Regions from separate parts of the Homo sapiens genome. Here region 2 is linked to region 1. The links are contacts of gene promoters, found by promoter capture Hi-C in blood cells and fetal thymus (Javierre and others, 2016). All regions are on one chromosome and are shown on one strand. The core of a region is centred on a gene start or on the middle of the fragment in contact, and the rest is flanking DNA. Distances in the headings are between cores, read along the strand shown. Region 1 holds the start of KDM4B (lysine demethylase 4B). Region 2 has its middle 15 kb from the start of TINCR.

Region 1 (5,120 bases), core at 1,817-4,316:
TCTGAAAGCCAAGCCAAGCCTCCTGGTCTTGTTTAGGGGGAGGTCCCCAAGCATTCCCTGCCCCAGTCCTTTGTGAGATTTGCATCTGACTGCAAAGGATGGAAGAAAACCAGGGCAATTAGGTGAGTGTTGCCTAAATTAATCTGCCCATTAAAATATTCTAAAGAGCATTTCCTTCCTTTTTGGAGGATGAGGACTTCTACTTATCTGACAGCAATTCTAGTGTGTTTTTAACATTTTAATATGAAGAGTTTCCAAAACTTGGAAAGAATCGGATTTGGAAAGAATCGGATGGTGAACCCTCAGACCTACCGTCTAGATTCTATGATCATGTTAAGTTTTTCTCATAAGAGATGGCATGAAAACTTTGTCTAAGCAAAATAAAGTGGAGAACCCATTTGGGTTCCTCGGTTAAAAACATTTATATTGTCTGTGAAATCTAAACACCCCCCACTGTCTCAGAGAATATACTTGGAAGTAGAACAAAAAGCCCTATGTATGTGGTACGTGGGGTGGGGACTCTTTCCCTTCATGATTGCACTTTTTTTTTTTTTTGAGACAGGGTCTCATTCTGTTGCCCAGGAGTGCAGTGGTGTGATCATGGCTCACTGCAGCCTCGACCTCCTGGGCTCAAGTGATCCTCCCTCAGCCCCCAGTGTAGCTGGGACCACAGGCATGTGCCCGCACAATCAACTCGGTTTTTATTTTTAGTAGAGAAGAGGTCTCGCTCTGTTGCCCAGGCTGGCCTGAAACTCCTGGGATCAAGTGATCCTCCCACCTTGGCCTCCCAAAGGGCTGGGATTACAGATGTGAGTCACTACACCCAGCCTGGGCAACAGCCTGTTTTTAAATTTTGTTTTTACTTTTTATTTTGAGACGGGGTTTGACTCTGTCACCCAGGCTGGAGTGCAGTGGTGTAATCAACGGCTCACTGCAGCCTCCACTTCCCCGGGCTCAGGTGATCCTTTCGCCTCAGCCCCCGAATAGCTGGGATTATAGGCGCGTGTCACCACGCCCAACTTTTGTAATTTTTTTGGTAGAGACGGAGTCTTGCTATATTGCCCAGCCTGTTCTCAAACTCGTGGGCTCAAGTGATCTGCCCATCTCAGCCTCCCAAAGTGCTGCGATTCCAGGCATGACCTGAAATTAAATCTCAACTCCATGTGGAATATATGAATATGGTCCCATAAGAATTTAAAACACCCAGAGCTTCTTAAATTCTCCTTTGACTTCTCTTTTTACCAGTGTGCAGCTTTCCTTCTCTCCCCAAGGATTAAGTTCGTTTCTTCAGTTTAGGAGTACCTTTTTCTGTGCATTGACAAGCTTGTGTGCTCTTAACCTCATGATACCGGTTTCTGTGTGTGTTTCCATATTTATTTTATTGAGTACAGGATTCTGGACCACTGTCCCTAGCTCAGCGGTTGGGAGATATTTCATGTTTGCAAACAGATCGGCCTTCTCTTTTTTCTTTTCTTTCCTTTTTTGAGACAGAGTCTCACCCTGTTGCCCAGGCTGAAGTGCAGTGATCTCGACTCACTGCAACCTCCGCCTCAGCCTCTGGAGTAGCTGGGATTACAGGCATGCGCCACCATGCCTGGCTAATTTTGTATTTGTTAATAGAGACAGGTTTTTGCCATGTTGGCCAGGCTGGTCTCGAACTCTGGACCTCAGGTGTTCCACCCGACTCGACCTCCCAAAGTGCTGGGATTACAGGTGTGAGTCGCCCGAGCCACAGCACCGGGCCTGGCCTCCTTTTCAATTGCTACATAGTAAGTATTCCAGAGTACTGATTGCTATTAAGTTACTTCTCTAATCCCCCACTGATGGATAGTTAGTGCAAAACATTGGAAACAGTTGCAGACAGCCCTGCCGCCGGCATTCTTGAATTGTGTAAGCTCCAGACCTTTTTTCTGGGTACATCACCTCCAGGAAGAACTGCTGGCTGGGTTATCGGGTGGTGGATGCACTTAGAATGTTATTAGAAAATGTCAAATTGCCCAATTTACACTCCTGCCACTCCAAATGGGGGCATGCCTCACACCCCTGCGTGGTCCAGTACACAATGAATGCTCATTTTGTGAAGTCACAGGGTCAAATCTTTCTCCGTGCCTCATCCCACTTAATCCTTGCAACATTCTCAAGAGGCGGGTAGACGGGGTGTGGCCACTACCATCATATCCATTGCACAGTTGGAAACAGACTCAGCGAGGTTACTTTGCTGGAGGTCAACCACAGTGAGGCATGGGGCCCGGCTTAGCTTTGAATCCAGGTCAGAAAGCACCAAAGCTCATTCTCTCCCATACATTTTAGGGAACTCGGGGAGAGGGACCCTAACTATTCCGAAGGCCTTGCCCCTTGGCAAAGGTTTGTTGATTGTGATGGGAATAGACCTACGGTGGCGGGGTGGAGGCTCTTGCTGCTTTACCCTATGTTCTCGGTTCTCCTCCTTTGCAAAACGGATCGCTATGTCTCCTTGCTTGGCACTTTGCAAATTGGGGAACGCTAAGCCCACATTCCGGCCACGGGTTTCGAACCTCCAGCCTGCACGTTCCCGGCCGGTGCTGATGCTGTGCTGGGTCTCACGTACTCAGCCGCCGCCTGATAACCAGGGCGGGGCCCGGAGCTTGCGGGCAGTGATTGGCACCTGCCCCAGCCTGTCCGCGCCTCGGGCTGGCCCCTCAAGCCAATACTGGCTCCTCTCTGTGCGGTCGTCGGGCGGGCCCTGAGGCTCCCTTGTCAATCCAAGGCCCAGCTGCCGTCGGGTTGGTCGCGGCAGCCTTGGCTGGCGTGCGCCCCCTCCAATGAGAACAGAGCCGGTCAGCGGGCACGTGGGTGGGCGCCGGCGTGTCCCCGCCGGTCTGCCAATGAAGAGGCGAGGCCGGCGTTTGTCCCCGCCCAATCGCGGCGCGCGGTGGGCGGGCCGTGCGGTGTTGATGGGCCCGGCGGAGGGGAGGGGCGGAGCTGTCAGCTCCGGCCAATGGGCGCTCGGGCGTGGATCCGGCAGCCAATGGCAGTCGGGGCGGAGCTGGCGCGCGGCCTTATAAGCCCCCCCGCGAGCGCTTGCGGAGGGCTCGGTCGCCAGCAACCGAGCGGGGCCCGGCCCGAGCGGGGCCTGGGGGTGCGACGCCGAGGGCGGGGGAGAGCGCGCCGCTGCTCCCGGACCGGGCCGCGCACGCCGCCTCAGGTGAGCCCACGGGGAGGCCGCCCGGCCGTGTCCGAGCGCGGACCCCGCCGCCATGGCCGCCCCCGCGTCGCGGCTCGGGGCTGCGGGCGCGCCCGGGACTCGAGGCCCAGGCCTCGGGCGCGGCCTGCTCGGGCCGGGCCTCGCGCTTTGTCCGGGCCGGCGGGGCGGTTGGGGCGTTAACCGCCCGGCCCGGGGGCGCCCGCTGGTTTTCGGGCGGGGGCGGCGGGGCCGGACAATGGCGGGGCGCGCCCAGGGGCGGGAGCGGGGGCCCCTTCCCGGGCCGGGGGCGCGCGGGGGCTGGGCACAGACGGCCCCGGCGCCCCGCACAAAAGATGACAGCGTGGGTGGCCCCGGCCGGGCCCTTTTATCACCCGGGACAAGCCTCGGCCTATTATTATTATTATTTTTGAAAGAAAGCAAGAAAAAGGAAAAAGACCCCAGCCCCTGGGTAACCCCCGCCTGCGTTTCTGGCCCTTTGGGCGCCAGGGGGGCTAAGGGGAAGCCCCCCAGCTGGACACCCAGGGATGCCCCCTAAATGCCTATCATTGCTCCTGCACTGCCCCCACCTCCGGTCAACCTGCTATGCCTTGGTAGCTTCCAAACTTGCCCCCCTGTACGTACCCGAAACCCCCACCCCGCCATAAGCATATGCAATCTGGATTTTAGAAAAAAATCATCTTGCTATGCAACGGCAGCCTCCACGAGTCTCTCCGTCCCTCCCCCTTCCAGCCTGATCGCCATCTCGAACGAAGCCCCTGCTCTAGAGAAATGAATTGAGGAGTTGCTTCCGCCGAGACCCCTTTTCTGTGTCCCCCGTGGACATCCCCCTGGGAGCTGGGGACGGACTCGCTCTGAAATCTGCTTGACCTGGGGTCTGCCAGGGCCCAGGTCTGCGCTCAGTGGTGGCCATGACAATCAGGCAGGACGGGGGACTCTGTCCACCTGGGCACGGTGGAAGGTTTTAAGGGGCATGTTTTCCGCCCCTGGGGGCAGTGGAGGCATGGACTGCTTTTGGGTGCATCCCATCTGTTTGCTTGGGGGAGGATGCTTCTGTTTTAATAATTTACCAGCACCCTGTGAGGAAGTGTTCCCCGAGTTGTGAAACTAGTGAGAAGGTGGTTCAGCTCCGTGGAGCCTAGTGATCCTGTCATATGTGAAGAGCGTCTTTTTCCATGTGTTTCTGGCTGGGGCGTGTATTCAGCAAGTTCCTTTGGGTCCCACCGGGTGCCTGCACTGTCTTGGGATCTCTGGATACTGGACTGAATTCAAGGGATCGGTGCCCTGCCCCAGTCCTCTGCCTCAATGGCCATTTATCAGAATGTCCCCGGGCTGGAGAATGCTCCTAAAAACAGCACCAGTCCTAAAGCAGGCTCATTAGACGACTCCTATGGGCTTTTATCACTGCCGTTATGGGAGCTAATGACTCCCCTAATTCTCCAATAATAGCTTCCTTATGAGCCACCAGGAGGGTTTGTCAACACACGGGGTCAGCCTTCTCCTGCAGCCCCTGCTGAAGCAGTGGGCATCCTCTCTCCGCTTTGCAGTTTATGTTTTGAAACCCTGAAGGTCGGAGCGTAAAGCCGTGGTAGAGTCAACTTCTGTCTGAGCCGAGGATTTCTGGGACTTGCCAGCCTCGTCTCCGTGTGTCTGATTGGACACCTGGCAGGTCCGGGCGCTCCCCCTCCTTGAGCCGGCGACACCAGGACGGGTCAGACTGTCCTGGCCTAGAGGAGGTCACCGCTGGGGAGGAAAAGGGGGTAACGGAGATTCTGCCGCACAGACGGGTGTCTGTGTACAGGCTGTTTTGGTGGAAGCGTCTACTGTGTCAGGAGCTGCGGGTGCCTGCGTGTGCACGTGTGTGTTTAGTTGCTGAGACCTGAAATATATATGTCTTAGTAACAATCCGTTTGCTCGCATTTTCTAACCCTTTCCTCTT
Region 2 (5,653 bases), core at 699-3,198, 610 kb after region 1:
CTCTGTGCACTGTTTCCCCAGCAATGGGGACCTTTCCCGGACCACCTGTGAGATCCACCCTGCTGGGTTTCATTTCAGCTGAGTCTGTAAATATTTGGTCTGCTGTGGCCGGCAGCATACACGCAGGGGAAGCTTCAGTGCCTTTTACGAGCTCCCCGCGAGGCCTGATATGCGTTTTCTGTGGCTGGGTACACGGGGCACCCCAGTAGTTTCACAGCTCGTTGGCACGAGGTGGCTATGATTCCAAGACTGGAAGAAGCCGAGAGACACCATCAGTGGCTTCCAGCACTTAACTCCACAGCGTGCAGCATTTGAGAGGCCAAAGAGGGGCCTCTTGTTTTAAAAACTGTAATGCAACATTATAGATTACAGCTGCAGTAGAAATCGAGCCCAGCGATTCCCCTTCCCTAAGTCTATGGGCCACACTTAATTTCTTAAAGGGCAGAGGGGAGGGATTTCTGTTGGGCAAGGAGTGGGAAGCCCTGGTTTAGACCTGTCTCTTGCTAAAAAAATTCAAAGAACCACAACCACTTGCTATGCACCTACTGTATGCCAGATATTGCATAAAGCACTTTTTTATTTTTTTGAGATGGAGTCTCATTCTGTCTCCCAGGCTGGAGTGCAGTGGTGCGATCTTGACTCACTGCAACCTCCGCCTCCCAGGTTCAAGCGATTCTCCTGCCTCAGCCTCCTTAGTAGCTGGGATTACAGGCATGCGCCACCATGCCCAGCTAATTTTCATATTTTTAGTAGAGATGGGGTTTCACCATGTTGGCCAGGCTGGTCTCGAACTCCTGACCTCAGGTGATCTGCCCACCTCACCCTCCCAAAGTGCGGGGACTACTGGCGTGAGCTACCGTGCCCGGCCAAAACCTGCTTTTTTTTTTTTTTTTTATGGAGTCTCGCTCTGTCACACAGGCTGGAGTGCAGTGGTGCGACCTCAGCTCACTGCACCCTCCATCTCTGTGTTCAGGCGATTCTCCTGTCTCAGTCTCCTGAGTAGCTGGGACTACAGGTGCCTACCACCACACCCGGCTAATTTTTGTGTTTTTAGTACAGACGGGGTTTCACCATGTTGGCCAGGCTGGTCTCAAACTCCTGAGCTCAGGTGATCCACCCGCCTCACCCTCCCAAAGTGCTGGGATTACAGGCATGAGCCACCGCGCCCGGCCAAAACCTGTATTTTAAAAGGCTGTGCACTGGGGAGATGCAGATGCCTGCCCCAACGATGCTTATGTGGTGGAGAGTGCCGACAATAAACAATGCTTTAGCGAGTGGTCAGAGCCACGAGGACAGGCAGGTGTGACAAGGCAGAGGGTGATGAGGCGCTGCTGATCCAGTGGTCAGAGGAGACCTCTTGCAGGGGGCAGAATTTGAAGGGGCTGGGCATGTGTGGCTGGTCTCCTCAGTCACAGCCAGTGCCACGCTGTTCTTTTTTGAGACAGCCCTGTCGCCCAGGCTGGAGTGCAGTGGTGTGATCACAGCTCACTGCAGCCTCTGCCTCCTGAGCCCAAGTGATCCTCCCTCCTCAGCCTCGTGGGTAGCTGGGACTACAGGTGTACACCAGCAGCCCAGCCAATTTTATTTTTTTGTACAGATGGGGTCTTGCTACATTACCCACACTGCTCTCAAACTCCTGGGCTCCAGTGATCCTCCCACCTCAGCCTCCCAAAGTGCTGGGATTACAGGCATGAGCCACCGGGCCCTGGTTCACAGACCACCCAGGAAGCTCTCCCAGGAGGGCAATGTCTCGGGTCCTCAGTACCTTATGCTCCACTGAACCCGGCAGCTGCTGTGTCAATATTTGCAGGTGGAGGCAAACACAGGGCAGCTGCATCTCACGAGGATTTGAGGAGTACGGAGAAGCGGCTCTTGGTGCTCCCGGGAGTAATTTAGGGGCAGTTTCTGGCCCAGTATTGCTGTCTCTGGAAGCACTGTAGGACATGTAGAGTTATCCTTGGGGTCAACTCTAAAGGCCAAGCGCATGTGCAAAATTATGTACACACTCACGTACGCAGCTTGCTCACTGGTGCCCCAAACACCTATCCCTTCACCACCGTGTGACCGCGGCACGGGGTGCCCTGACAACCGGGGAGGCTGAGGAGAAGGGACCTCGGGCTGCAGCCTCAGCTCCATGGCTCGCTACCTCTGGGCGGGTCTCAGCCTCCCTCGGGCTCAGAACCTTCTTCTGCGCTTGACTTTCCCAGGAATTGACTCCAGTTTCCCAGGGAGCTGCACTGGGCTATGTCTGGGTTTGGTGATGTTGTGTGGCGTCCGTAGGTGTCCTCATATAAATTGGTGGCTGGCCAGGGGGACTAGAGATGTCTAACTTGCTTGACTGGTAAGCACATCAGGTGCTTCCCAAAGTGGATTCTGTTGTACACCAGGGTGACGGACAAGGATGCCCACGTCCTAATCCCTGGGACCTATGAACACATTGGTCTCCAAGACAAAGGGACCTTGCAGATGTGATTAAGGTGAAGGAATTCGTGGCTGGGTGTGGTGGCTCATGCCTGTCATCCCAGCACTTTGGGAAGCCAAGGCAGGAGAATCACCCGAGGCCACGAGTTTGAGACCAGCTTGGCCAACATGGGGAAACCCCATCTCTACTAAAAATACAAAAACTAGCCAGGCATGGTGGCAGGTACCTGTAATCCCAGCTACTTGGGAGGCTGAAGCAGGAGAATCGCTTGAACCCGGGAAGCGGAGGTTGCAGTGAGCCAAGATTGTGCCACTGCACTCCAGCCTGGGCAACACGGCACGGCTTCATCTCAAAAAACAAAGAGAAAAGCTCTCCTAGTCCACCCAGCTGACCAAAGAAATGGCTGAAGGGCTGAGGTCTGAACCCACCCAGCAGTGAGAGCAGAATCCGAACCCTGATTTGTCACCATCGTATGACCAGGTAGGAACAGCCTCACCTCTCCCGTGGGTCACTGGGACTCAAGGAAGCCCTGCCCCTCAATCCGGCAAACCTGTTAAAAGGCACGGCATCCCCGTTAAACGTCGACTTTATGGTTGTTGGGTTTTTTTGGAATCAAAAGGCCCTGTTCTAACTTTGCCTTTGAAATTATGTGACTAGGAGTCATGCATGCAATTTGAGACTGGCAATCATCGTGGAGGCTTGGGAGTTCCTTGGGAATAAGAAAATCTAACCTAGGAGCTGTTTTGAAATGTAATGAAATCTTTATGAATACAAAATTTAGCAATTGGTGAAGTTGACACATTTTGTAGCTGTGGAGACATTTCGTAAGGTCTTAATTCTACTTTTTCTTTCTTTTTTTTTTTTTTTTGAGATGGAGTTTCGCTCTTTCACCCGGGACTAGAGTGAAGTGGCGCGATCTCGGCTCACTGCAACCTCCGCCCCCCAGGGTTCAAGAAGTCTCCTGCCTCAGCCTCTCGAGTAGCTGGGATTACAGGCACCCACCACCATGCCTGGCTAATATTTGTATTTTTAGTAGAAATGGGGGTTTCCCCATGTTGGCCAGGCTGGTCTCGAACTCCTGACCACAGGTGACCTACCCGCCTCAGCCTCCAGAAGTGCTGGGATTCGAGGCATGAGCCACCGCGCCAGGCCATAAGGTCTTAATTCTGATTCTGCTGTTTTCTTTCTGTATGGCTGGAGCTGGTCATTTCCTCACCGGGACCCCCTCCAGACCTCTGGCATTGCATTTCGCCAGGGCCCCTGTGAAACATGAGCACCCGAGGCTCTATTCCTGTAGGGCTCCCCAGGGCCTGCCAACATGTATTAAGCATTTACTGTATGCCAAGCTTTTTATGTGGATTAACTAATCTTTGTAAAGATCCCATATGGCAACTACAATGATTACTCCCTCCTTCCAGTTAAAGCAGCTAAAGCAGACAGTAATGACCTGCCCGTGGGCAGGCAGGTAGTGAGAAGGCTGGGTGCCAGGCAGTTGGCTCCTAAACTTGCTCTCAAGAAGCTCCCTGTTTCTGCCCCAGTGGCTCTCATTCCCGTGATGCCCCCACAGCTCCCCCTCCCCTTTAAAAATGTCTTTAAAACGATGGGAAATGATACATAACAAAATTCACCACCAAATGGTATACCAAGGCCAGGCATGGTGGCTCATGCCTGTAGACCTAGCAACTTGGGAGGCCAAGGTGGGAGGATGGCTTGAGCTCTGGAGTTCGAGGCTGCAGTGAGCTATGATCGCGCCACTGCATTCCAGCCTGGGAGACACAGCGAGACCCTGTCTCGTAAAAAAGGGGAATTGGAATCTTCATATAGTGCTAGTAGGAATGTATAATGGTACCACCACTGTGGAAAAGTCTGGCTATACTTCCAGAAATAAAACACAGGGAGTTACAAAGTCAGCATAGGACCCAGCAATCCCAGTCCCAGGTATATACACAGGAGAATGGAAAACAGGTGTTCAAACACATACATATCCATAAATGCTCACGGCAGCGTGATTCACACACAACTGCCCAAAGGGGGGAACCACCCACACGTCCATCAGCATCTCCTTTTCATAACACGTATTTTGTTCCACCCACCTTTTCTCTCTTGAAATAAAAGTTGAGTTAATATAACGTACCTATGCTCAATTATTAAAGAAACAGGCCAGGCGCGGTGGCTCACGCCTGTAATCCCAGCACTTTGGGAGGCCGAGGTGGGCGGATCACTTGAGGTCAGGAGTTCGAGACCAGCCTGGCCAACATGGTGGAACCCCGTCTCTACTAAAAATACAAAAATTAGCTGGGCGTGGTGGCAGGCACCTGTAATCCCAGCTACTTGGGAGGCTGAGGCAGGAGAATCGTTTGAACCTGGGAAGCGGAGGCTGCAGTGAGCCCAGATCCTCGCCACTGCACTCCAGCAGTGACAGAGTGAGACTGTCTCCAAAAAAAAAAAAAAAAAAAAAGGAGGGGGGGGGGAACCAGGACACAAACACGCTTGCAGGAAGAAGGCCACATGATGAGGATGGAGGCCGAGACTGGGCAATGTTTTTACAAACCAAGGAATGCCCAGAGGTGCTCGGCAGCTGTCAGAAGCCAGGAGGCTCAGGACGGAGCCTGGGAAGGACACAGCCCTGCCCACACCCAGATCTCAGACTCCTGGCCTCAAGAACTGAGAGCCAATGAGCTTCCTTAGGCAGTCTATGGTGCTTTGTGACAGCCGTCCTGGTAACTCGAGTGCTTTGTTTCTGCGTGGAACAGAGCTGGTTCCAGGCCCGGCTCGTTGGAAAGGGCAGGGCTCTTCTGCCCCCATAGGATGTCCAGTGGGACTGGTTCCCTTTCCAGCTCCCATAGAGCAGCCTGGCAGTGGTTGAGCCCCTGCTTCATAGTTCAGGAGGCCACACCCACCTCCAGGAAGGGGTGCTCCGTGACATCTGAGACACCGAGGTCTGAAAACAGGGCCTGCTCCCAATCCCAGGCTGCCTCCTCAACGCAGGCTAAGCCTGCCTTTTATTGCCCAACAGGGAAGCTCTCAACCCCAATTTCTAGACTCTGGCTCGTCGGGGAGACAGGCAAGCCGCGAAGACCCCATGTGCAACACAGAGGCGGCGTGGCGCCCAGTCCACCTGCCACTGGAAAATGACTCCAGAAGCCGCCACCGTGGGGGAGGCTCCGGAATGCGTTCACGGCAGCTCAGGCCCAGACAGGACGCCGAGGGCCAGGGCCAACCTGCCTTTCA

The links. The method cuts DNA at HindIII sites, captures the fragments that hold promoters and counts their contacts. A CHiCAGO score of 5 or more calls a contact.
Region 2: a fragment that was not itself captured here is called in contact with the fragment with the promoter of KDM4B in region 1 in 1 of 17 cell types (endothelial precursors); the score reaches 5.3 in endothelial precursors.

What each region holds. Positions count from the first base shown.
Region 1 is chr19:4,966,047-4,971,166 of GRCh38, forward strand. It overlaps KDM4B (lysine demethylase 4B), which reads left to right and starts at 3,067. Exons shown (of 23, transcript NM_015015.3): 1 at 3,067-3,184. RefSeq lists silencers at 2,531-2,630, 2,941-3,240 and an enhancer at 4,507-4,556. The HindIII fragment of the contact is 5,018 bases long and covers 1,322-5,120 here.
Region 2 is chr19:5,580,297-5,585,949 of GRCh38, forward strand. No RefSeq gene overlaps it. Among named protein-coding and RNA genes, the nearest start is that of TINCR, 15 kb to the left of the region's middle. RefSeq lists enhancers at 5,543-5,602, 5,582-5,653, 5,622-5,653. The HindIII fragment of the contact is 3,636 bases long and covers 131-3,766 here.